3 separate regions of the Homo sapiens genome follow, and regions 1 and 3 are each linked to region 2. The links are contacts of gene promoters, found by promoter capture Hi-C in blood cells and fetal thymus (Javierre and others, 2016). All regions are on one chromosome and are shown on one strand. Each heading gives the region's core, a stretch centred on a gene start or on the middle of the fragment in contact. The rest is flanking DNA. Distances are from core to core; before and after follow the strand shown. Region 1 has its middle 58 kb from the start of EPB41L4A-AS1. Region 2 holds the start of STARD4-AS1 (STARD4 antisense RNA 1). Region 3 overlaps EPB41L4A (erythrocyte membrane protein band 4.1 like 4A).

Region 1 (3,517 bases), core at 1,018-3,517, 590 kb after region 2:
ATAAGATATGAAAGAACATCAGAATCCAAAAAAACTCATAAATGAAGTGACAGCTCAAAAAATAATTCAAAATAAATTTTTTAAAAACCATTTTAGTAATGAAGAATAAACATGAAGGAGCAGAAAAGCAAATAGACATAGTATGTAATGTCTTATGAGAATGATAAGATGAAAAGAAGGATTATTTTCAAAATTAAAAGGGAATTAAGACAAAAATATAAAAGCAATGAAGACAGTTAAAAATGATTTAAGACAAAGTGGTAAATATTGAACATAAGCAAAGACAATTTATACTGATAAAAGGAGTCCCTGAAAAAAGAAAACCTAAGCAAGATTTGAGAACATTTACTAAAAACTATAATTTAATAAAACTTTCCTTAAAATTTTCCCAGCTGGGCACAGTGGTTCACATCTGTAAGCCCAGCACTTTGGGAGGCTGAGCTGGGAGGATTGCTTGAGCACAGGAGTTTGAGACCATCCTGGACAACACGGTGAAACCCCATCTCTACAAAAAACATTTTTTTTTAGTCAAGTATGATGGTTCATTCCTGTGGTCCCAGCTGCTTGGGAGGCTAAGGCAGAAGGATTACTTGCCCAGGAGGTGGAGGTTGAAGTGAGCCGTGTTCATGCCACTGCATCCCAGCCTGGGCGACAGAGCAAGACTCTGTATCAATTGAAAAAAAAAAAAATCCCCTAAACTACGTATGAAGGTTCATAATTACTAACAACAAGACATATGCTAGTAGAATTTCTGGAGTTTAAAGAAAAAGTGAAATATCCATTAGGCATTTAAAAAAAGAAGAACAAGTGACTTATAGAGGAAAGAAAACTAAATTGTATTCCTAGTGCTCAGATTGTGGTCTTAAAATATCATTTCTACTAGGGCATCTTACAGCATGATTCTCAGTAGGGGTGACATTGCCCCCAAAGGGGAAAAAATTGGTTTACGGGGGATGAAAAAAGTCTTACAATTGTTTGTGATCTTCCAAAGCTCAACCCAACCTGAAAAAAAATCTTATTTCTTAGTATTTAATTTAATTACTTTAATTTTAGTTATTAGATATTAATTTTAGCTTAATTAAAAAATTTTGATTTTTTCTTGGGGGGTGAAAATTTTTTGAGAGATTGAGATACAGTCTCAGATGGCTGATTACAGAGCTAGAACAAGAAATATATAAAATAAATCTGGAATATTTTGTCACGCCAGATAAGAAGCCACTATCAAAGATTATTAGGGTTACATCCAAAAATTCAAGAACTTGGAGAGACTTCCACTGGTTAAAGATGAGCTTCAATAAAGACAATAATTGCCATGAATTGAAATCTACCAAACATATTTAAGCCATAAGTTTATAATGATACTAAAAAGTAGTCATTGGTCACCTTCAGAGATTGATAAGAAACTAATTCCTTATCTCAAATTCTACCTTTCTATTATGCCCTATACCACTGGGTAATGATTATTTTTGAACTCAATGAATTAAGAGATATAGTATGTTCACATGACAAAAATAGAGACAACCAGACATTCTGTGCCTCCCATAGTTTTTGCAAATACCACCAAGTCTTGCAGAAGGCATCATATGATCCGTTGTTGTCATAAAAAACTTAAGAACAGCTTGAAGGTTCTTACTGGCCAAAACTGTATCAATTTCAGCATTAAAATTAATAGTGATAATAAAGTGTTCCAATCTGTGCATCCAAGCTCATAGAAATATGTAGGAATATATATTTCTTTTTAATAAATATTAAAGAAATAAGAGAATTTAAAAATTGCAGCCATCATAGTAATAATTGAATCAGGCAAGAATCAACAATGGGTACTAAAAGTAATAGGAGATAGTTTGCTGAGAAACATTTATATAAACTCAACATTTCTCCACACAAAGTACTTAACTAATTACAAAGGGGAAGGGGAAAATATAATTATTTCACAGAAGAGAAAACTGACAGACACCACTTCAAACCAATGATTCAATTTAACATCACCAAAAATGGGACAAATTGACATTGTATATCTCCTGATATGATACATCGTGAAGAACAGAGTACTTGTGTAATATTCCTGCCAAAAATTCATAAATAGAATTTAATCGTGAAGAAATACTGAACTCCTAAATTAGGCGACATTCAACCAAAGCAAAAAAATAATATGTATACCTTAAAAATGTCATAGTTACAAAAGACAAGAAAATACTAAAACTATTCTAGACCAAACAAAACTAAAGAGACATGACAATTAAATGCAACATGTAATTCTAGATTAGGTCTTGCATCCATTTGCTATAGGGTATTATTGGAACAATTAGCAAAATGTAAGTAGGGTCTCTGGATTCAATGGCAGAATTGTGTCAATGTTAATTTTCTCTTTCAGTTGGTTATACTGTGATTACCTGGGTTGTATAGTGGTTACTTCAGAAACTGCATACTGAATATTAGAGGAAATAAGGCATCTTGACTGCAATTCACTGTAAATTTGTTCAGAAAAGAAATTGTGGGCAGTGGTTGGTGGGGTGGGGGCGGCAGGGGCGGTGCCAAAGAGCGAGACAGAATGATAAAGTAAATGTGGTAAAATGTGAACAATTGGTGAAACTGACTCAGGAGTATAGGGTGGCTCTTTGTTCTTGCAACTTATTTGAAAGTTTGATATTATTTCAAAATAAAACGTTGAAGAAAAAAACCTCTCTGTCAAACAACTTTTAGGTCAAAGAAGAAACCCAAAATCACAGAATGTCTTTAATGACATTAAAAACACTATATTACAACAAGGATTGTGCCTATTTCATAGGGCTAATCTGAGACTTAAATGAAATTTGAAAGTGCTTAGGAAGTATTTATTAAATGATGCATTCTCAACAGAGAGTATATTACCTCCCAAGAGGTGAAAATTGGTTCTTGGGAAGTGAAAAATATTAGACATTAAAATCATTTGTGGTTGACCAAAGCTCAACTCTATTCAACAAAATTTTATTCTTCACTATACCATTTTTTATTAATGATAAATTTAAATTTTTTCTTTTTAAAAGGACAATAATGAAATAAAGGTTGAAAATTATTACCAAGAAAACTCCAATATGCTACATAGCCTGTGAAGAAAATATATGGCCTCAAATACTTACATTGTTAATTTAAAAAAAAGAAAATCTAAGCATTACATTCAATAGATTAGAACAGGCAAACAAAACAATCCCATAAGAAAAAGCAATAAAATAATAAGTGTAAAACCAGAAATTAATGAATTTTAAAAACCAAAAAATGAGCAGAACTAATAAGGTCAGGTTAAAACAGTAAAAAAAAACACATACAAACTGACTCAAAAAAACATGCAAGTTACAAAACAACACACAGAGTATATTCTACACATCTTACACCCTACCTCACACCCTCATGACCCACCTTTGCCAACAGCCATTGCTATGGAAACAAAATGCATGCAGGTGTAGCATGTCCCTCATCTCTACCAGGGGTTTTCTACAACTATGGTCAATATAAAACAGCTGTCCGAGAGCTGGCAGAT
Region 2 (3,464 bases), core at 815-3,314:
TTCATCAAGATTAAGTCCATAATGAAATAATCATTGCCATCAAAACTGCTACCTCTGTGTAAACAGGCATAATTGAGCATTTCTCAAAATATTAATATATTCTAGAACCAAGAGGGTTGGGGGAGATGGGTTATCAAGGTCTTGGCTCTCTCTCCTAATATAACAGGGTACTGACATTAATTGAGAGGAAAACACCTAATTTGCCCTCCTGCAATCTCCAACTGTGGAGAATGTCAGGTAAATGTTTTAAATGCCATTCTGAACCCATTCTGAACTTCCTTTTACTAATTCAGTCTTTTATTCCCTTATCTTGACCTTATATCAGGAAATTATCCAACTCTAACATTTACACGTCAGAGAGAACAGGCACCACTTAACCTTATCAGAATATAATAGGTTCATATAAAAGATTTTATACTCTTGTCAGTCCCATGGCCAAATGCTGAGTAATGTCCACCTCCATGTTTTTCCTTTAATCTTTTTGTTCATGTTTTCTATGCCCATGCTTTTGAAGCTATCACTAGTGGTGATAGTGGCTGCCATCATAGGGAGGGCAGCTGTCTCAAGTTACTTTTCTTGAGGCCATCTATCAGCACCATAGTCTTGACCAATCCAACTCCAATTATTCTCAAATATCTGTCACAGTGAGATGGCATAGGTTCTATTTTAAATATGGAACATAATAAAACATTTAACCTGTAATGTAAAGTGAATGCCATAAAAATCTGTTTGGACTTTTGTAGTACGACTAGGTCAGAATTCACTTGTTAAAGAAATGCAGGTATCAGAACGGTCTAACCTTGCATTACTTGATTAATATGGTTTTCACTTCCGTCAACAGCTTCAGTTTAACATGCCATGGACTTTCCCCAATGTCATACAAACCAAAGCTTTGTAAATTAAATTATATTTTCTAACTAACATAAAAATTTCAGCATATGCTTGATTTCCAATCAATGTTGAACTGTTAAGTTTTCTAACTCAGACAAGTACAGCAGCTTCTCATTTTTTGAGACTGGCTCTGGCAGGAGCTCACTATTTAAAGAAATGCAACATGGAAGTATATTTCTACAATATGAATAGTGAGCCAACTTACTGTTCAAACCCCTAATGCTCTAATACTTGATTAAAAAAAAAACCTAATGCTCTGTACTTGATTTTAAAAAATAACAATAACATTTATTGATCACTTACTACATGGTCAGTCCTTCTGGCTGCTTTACATTGCATTTATTTTATTTAATCCTCACAACAGTAATAGTCCTCCTTGAGAAAATGTGTTTCATTATGGTAAAGGAATTTTAGTTATTCAGAAGCTCTAGGATTGGTGTAAATGGGCATACTTTAGATATCTTGAGGTCTTCCATAAGTGAGAATAGTAGCTTAATGTCTATACATTTTCCCTGTTTTACAGAAAGGGAAAATAGCAACAGGAAGGTTGAGTCACTTGTCCAAGATCACACAGTTCATAAGTGATGGAGCCAGAATTCCAACCCAGGGCGTCTGACTTCAGAGCCTAAAGCTCTCTCTTGTAAAACTGTGGAAGCTGATCACAGGCTGGAAAAGACTTCATATAAAAAACCTGGGCCCACCAAATATTTGTCAAGTTTTGTCCTGGCTGCTGAACCTAAAAATCTAAGGTAATCTTTCTCAAGTGTAAATTCGGGAAAACAATGACACTGATTTGGTGAGAAATTATTTGAGTTAATACATTTAGCAGGGACCTTGGAAGGCAGTAAGCCCTGGGAAAACTTTGTCTCTTGTCTTTGGCATCACCTCCGCGAAGCCTGGTGGGACGCGGCTGCCCCTGCGCTGTCTGTGCACCTCCTAAGAACCAGGAAGCGCGGTGACCTCCAAAGAACAGGACTGTCCCAAATCAAGCGGGATTACCACCGCCCCTCTCCCATTTAACAGCTGAGGACACTGAGGTCTAATGGATTCCAAGTACTTAAATAGGTGAGCGGCGCGCAGGGGCGAGTTGCAAGCCCTGGGATCCTTCCAGCTCGCCGCTTCCCCTCCCAGGGGCTCAGGTTTCTCTTTCATCTGTGAGGTCCTCTCCCGCCCGGACGCCGGGGCCCGCCATCCCCAACGTCCACCGCGAGCTCCCCAGATCCATGGTCTGGAGCAGGTCCAGAAGACGCACCTGGCAGGACGCCCCGGGCGCCACAGTCGCCCTCCACACGGGCCACCCCAATCCTGCCGCGGCTCCGTGGCTCTCCTTACCTTTACCTGAGGTGAAGCAAGGACGTGGAAGCAGCTACGGCGCGCTACCAAGCACCTCACACCGCTCTCAACAGTACTGCTCAGCCTCCCGGCCCGCCGATGCGCAGGCGACAGCAGCCAACTTGTAAGTCACCGCTGGTCGCAGCCAACTGGAAGGCACCCAGCGCCTCAGGGCAAGGCGGGCCGAGCCCCCAGCCCCGCCCCCTGGCCCGATCCCGGGGGCTCCGGGGAGGGGGGGCTGAGAGGAGGTGGCCGGAACAACGTGCGCTTGTTCGGATTGGCTGGCGCGGGAGCGTGTGGAGGGCTGATTGGTGGCCGATAAATGGAATGATTCCGCGTGGGTGTGGGCTGGCCCGAGCCGCGCCAGGGTTCCCTGGATGTCTGGGGTTGCCTGCAGGTTTGGATTGGTTGGGTTGGGTTGTCCTGTGATCACTTAATTGTGAAAGAATTTTGTCAAGCAGTAAACCGACTGGGAGAAATTGAAACAGAAGGCGAAGTGAAGGATCACAGTGAGGGATAAGGTCCAAATTCATCCCGCTTGTGGATATCCTAGTATCTCGCAACTACGCTACTCCTCCCAGGACTAAAAGTCAAATAAGAAAAAGCGCCCATGCAGAGGAGGACGAGCTCTCTGCCTCCTGCTTAGCCTGACTCAGAACTGAGAGAGCTGGGAAGGAAAATGCATATAAACGAAAGTCCCTGCCACTATGTGAATTGACCTTTAGCCAAATACGTTTGTGTGTGTGTGGGTGTGGGTGTGTGTGGGTGCGTGTGTGTGTTTCCATCCTCAGATAAAGAGTTTAGAGGGCAACCTTAGAAGCAGAGAAAAGGAGGAGGTGTGACAAGTGGATTTAGCAACTGCACAGTTTTGGAGTTTCCATCTACTCGAACATGAGAAAGATTTCTTCCAGTGGCTGTGAAGTCACCCATCTGATGGGATGCTTGGCAAACAGTGAATTTCTTCCTTTACCAGAGTAGCCATGATGCACTGATTAGCGAGGCTTGGTTTGTCTGCAAATTGCGTTTACTAAGATACGTAGTTTGAGAACCAAAAGCAGGGAAGAATGCAGTGCTACACCATTAGTGATTTCTGATAGACTTGCAATGAAAATAAATAATATTTCGTAAATTTTTAAGTCGGCCTCACCAAAAGAATTACCAAATACTACTTGCTAGTTATTATTGGCCGATTTATTTTTTACCTCCATCGTTTATATGTAAAATAATTTGTTTTATATTTA
Region 3 (3,727 bases), core at 535-3,034, 680 kb after region 2:
ACAAACATTGTTTTGACATAGTACCTTTTAAAAAGTCAAAATGTGCTCTTACATCATAGTCATCAAAGTCTCAAAAAGGAAAAAGAGTCCGTTGTCATTTATGTTGTGGATCTATTAATTTTCAAATGTTGCATCTAAAGGTGAACCTCAATAAACTAACAAACATTTATTTCCAGTACTAATTGATCCAATAAGTCTACATTTATCCTATTTTGTCAATTTCTCCATCTGTAACTATGGAGGGTCAACAACTGTGGTAGGAAGTATATCATAACAAGGTTTTTGTTTTTCAGTTAATGTATAAGGGAGAGGGTTGCTTTAGAATACAGCAAATTCTAACCATGTTTCAGAACAGAATTCTAATGTATTTCTTCCATCTCTTACCAAACTTCAACACTCTACTTTTCCAGACTATCCATACAATTTAGATTTTAACTGCATTTGACATTTAATTAAGGTCTGCAAAGGTTTTGAAGATGAAATGCCATATAATCATTTGATAACAATGAAGAAAATGACTATTCCTAGCCTCTTCTTTCCTGTCTTACCAATTACAGTCCTTCCTCTTTTGCAAAATTCTTCACATTACCAATGAATTCTTACACAAATCCCCGAGTTTTATTGTGTCCTCTCCCTTTAGCAGTTTTGCTCCTAACAGAACCTTTCTTTACATAAGTTCTTAATTCACTTCTAATTCACTGAGATAAACACCATGCTTAATGCTGAATCTAAGAAGTCTTTCAGAGAGAATGTAAAATGAAGCTTCAAGATGATACAAGCCATAAACATTGCTCCTGAGTTTTCTCCATTCCCAGCTCTGCCATTATCTGACTCAGAGACCTTGGACAAACTGCTTATCTTTTTTGGTCAAGTCTCAGGTTGTTCATATATAAAATTATGGCAAAGATCCTTTCTAGCTTTAAAACTTGATGTTTCTCTATTTGTATTTTATTTCCAAACCAGACAGACACACTGAAAGAAACTTACACTCTTCAACTATAGCATAACATTCCAGACAATTGCTTCACATGGCCCCTCCATTGCCAAAATTAAATCTGCAGGCCCCAACTGATTGTGAACTTGTGTTTCTCATCAACTGTACTCATTTTTTTTGGATCACCTGCTATAAAGCAATCTTTTTTTTTTCTAGTTTTTCTTCCCTAGGGAAATGTATGTTGGTTCCAGGCATGTGTCGACATACTCCCTTAAGACCAGCAAGCAAAAAGTTCATTTGCTTTTCCCATTGTCTCTACCATCAATAAATTATTCTTATTTGCTCTTAAAGGTACTTCTGTCTCTTCCACTTATTCCTTACGTGCCCACTACTACAATGGGCTACCTCTGGCGCAATTTCCCTTTCAAACTCTCCTGTTTTCATGAATTTTTAACCTATTTTGCCCTCACTCAGTAATGTAACAGCATTCCTCAGTTGCTGCGGCTTTGTCCTTCCACAGTCATCTCTGCCAACCTTGATTATACTCTGGAAGCCCTAAATCAACCATATCAAATGTCTAAATCTTGATATATCCTATTAAAGTAGAAATCAGAAACCCTTGCATCTGCAGTACGGTGAACACTGTTTCCACTAGCTTTGTACGAACTCTTCTCTCCGTACCCAAAATTTTTACCTCGTTTGCAGCCCCTAAATCAGGGGCAGGACAGTAGGCAGTTCCTGGCAAGGAAGCGGTTACCTATTTTCAAGCAAGACGGAAGAAATGCCCATCAGTTTAAGTTTGCTAACATCCCAAATATATTTTTTCCCTAGGGTACAGGGACAATAAAGTTCTTCTTTACCACTCCCAAAACAAAATCCTACCAAAATTGTGATCTTCTAGATTTGCCCTAGTCAGATATATTGTCCCTCTTACAGTGCCAAATTTCTCACACAGAAATGTGCTTCCTCATTTTAGAAAAACAATATAAAAGACCTTATGGAACATAATTAAAATATTTAAATCTGTCTTAATCTACTATTTAGATACTGTAGACATCTGGTAGACCCTAAAAGACATCTAAAAGACCCCAATGTTGTTAGGGAGAAACTAGCAACATTCATGCCAGAACAAACTCATGTTAGAAAACACTGACTTATTTCTTGTTCAAGGGAGCTGGTCCCCATTTTACAGATCCTGCAGGAACTTCAGAAAATACTGAGCAGTGCTGGATGTTATCAATTTAACAGAACTTGCCTGTGCAGGGCACTTTCTACTTTTCAAAGCACATCTATTATCTCGGGAACTTCACAAACCTCTAGTGAGGTAGGCAGGTCAGGTATTATTCCACTTTGCATGTGAGAAATGAAGATTCACAGGATAAAGTAACCAGCTCAAAGCCACAGAATTCTTCAAAGTGGGTTCAATTTCATAGTACAGGCTCCCAGATTTGCATGTACATATATATGTACACAAACATGCAGCCTGACACTGACGTACATGACTCATGTTTATGATGCAAACATCCTAGAATAAAATTAGGGAAACGTTCAAATAGTCCCCTGTTGTCAATTTCCTCTAGTTCTACTATTACCCTAAGCTGCTCTCGTTTCTCTGTTTTAATACTTGGTAGGCTCCCAAGTTATTTCTACTTTTATGCTGATGGAAAAAAACGCACCAGACTATCTCATGTCACCCACTCCTCCACATCTCCCACTTCCAAACTTCTAAGAGCCTAGAAACACATCAAAGGTAATGAATGAATGAGTAATTCAAAGATTCTCCTCAGTGAATGCTCAAAGGACTGCTGATTTTCATCAATAGCACAAAGGATATTTTGTAGAACCTTTTCCTTGAATGTCAAGGATATTTTATTAAGCTTAAGACATATCCAGGTAAAGCTAGTTCATCAAAGGTTTCACTCTCCTAAGTCTACTTGCGAGGTCCTCCTTCATCCTACACCCTGGGCAAGTCCAGCACATGGCCCATGGTCTCAAACCTACAGCAATAAGCGAGCTGCTGGCCCTTCTGATCTCAGGGACGAGATTCAAAATTCTAACTAATAGAATCTAATATTCATGTAGATTAACTTTATAGTGCCTTGTACTAGGTAGGTTCCCAACTTCAAGAATTCAATAGAATCAACTGTTTCACAAATTAGTATAGCAAAGTAATCTCTAAAGAAAGTTTAGGCATTTTAGTTTTTAATCCTACCAGTGAATTGAAACACCAATTTCATTTCCCAGTAACAATGTAATCCTTCACTATTTAGATGATAAAACTTTGTAAGTTTTAAGGGGGGGGTGTTACATAAACACCCCCTTATGAATCTGATAAAAACTACAGACCCTATCTTTAGAAAACTACGCACTTGACGCCCACATACAATTTTACATACAATTTCATGGGGTTATGAAACCCCCAGCACCTACCCATGAATCACAAGTTAAGAATCCTGGTGTAAAAATAACCAAAGGTATAAAGTTAGGAAAGGTGGGAAAATGAAACATAGGACCAAAAGAAAAGTTGGAAGAGGATGGAGGAGAGGACAGGAGATGCCGTAGCAGTGAGTAACTCTGGAAGTGGGTATAGGACTACGTGGCTCTGTACTTCAAAGTGCTCTCACTTCTTACATTTCATTTGATCTTTACAGTAACTCATTCAACAAAATGGATCAGTTGTTATAGCATACCTCCCCCCACTCCCTGCCAACTTTAAAGAGAAAAAAACTAATACTTGAATTGGTTATACAAGTTGCCCAAGGTCAAGTATCAGCACACAGCAAAACCAAGACC

What was found. The method cuts DNA at HindIII sites, captures the fragments that hold promoters and counts their contacts. A CHiCAGO score of 5 or more calls a contact.
Region 1: a fragment that was not itself captured here is called in contact with the fragment with the promoter of STARD4-AS1 in region 2 in 1 of 17 cell types (monocytes); the score reaches 5.1 in monocytes.
Region 3: a fragment that was not itself captured here is called in contact with the fragment with the promoter of STARD4-AS1 in region 2 in 1 of 17 cell types (monocytes); the score reaches 6.5 in monocytes.

The regions. Positions count from the first base shown.
Region 1 is chr5:112,101,042-112,104,558 of GRCh38, forward strand. No RefSeq gene overlaps it. Among named protein-coding and RNA genes, the nearest start is that of EPB41L4A-AS1, 58 kb to the right of the region's middle. The HindIII fragment of the contact is 5,460 bases long and covers 1-3,517 here.
Region 2 is chr5:111,510,162-111,513,625 of GRCh38, forward strand. STARD4-AS1 (STARD4 antisense RNA 1) reads left to right here and starts at 2,065. Exons shown (of 7, transcript NR_040093.1): 1 at 2,065-2,347. STARD4 (StAR related lipid transfer domain containing 4) reads right to left here and starts at 2,374. Exons shown (of 6, transcript NM_139164.3): 1 at 2,224-2,374. RefSeq lists enhancers at 2,009-2,218, 2,699-2,838 and a silencer at 2,249-2,618. The HindIII fragment of the contact is 3,364 bases long and covers 889-3,464 here.
Region 3 is chr5:112,187,082-112,190,808 of GRCh38, forward strand. The region is part of intron 17 of EPB41L4A (erythrocyte membrane protein band 4.1 like 4A); the gene reads right to left. Among named protein-coding and RNA genes, the nearest start is that of SNORA13, 27 kb to the left of the region's middle. The HindIII fragment of the contact is 2,049 bases long and covers 761-2,809 here.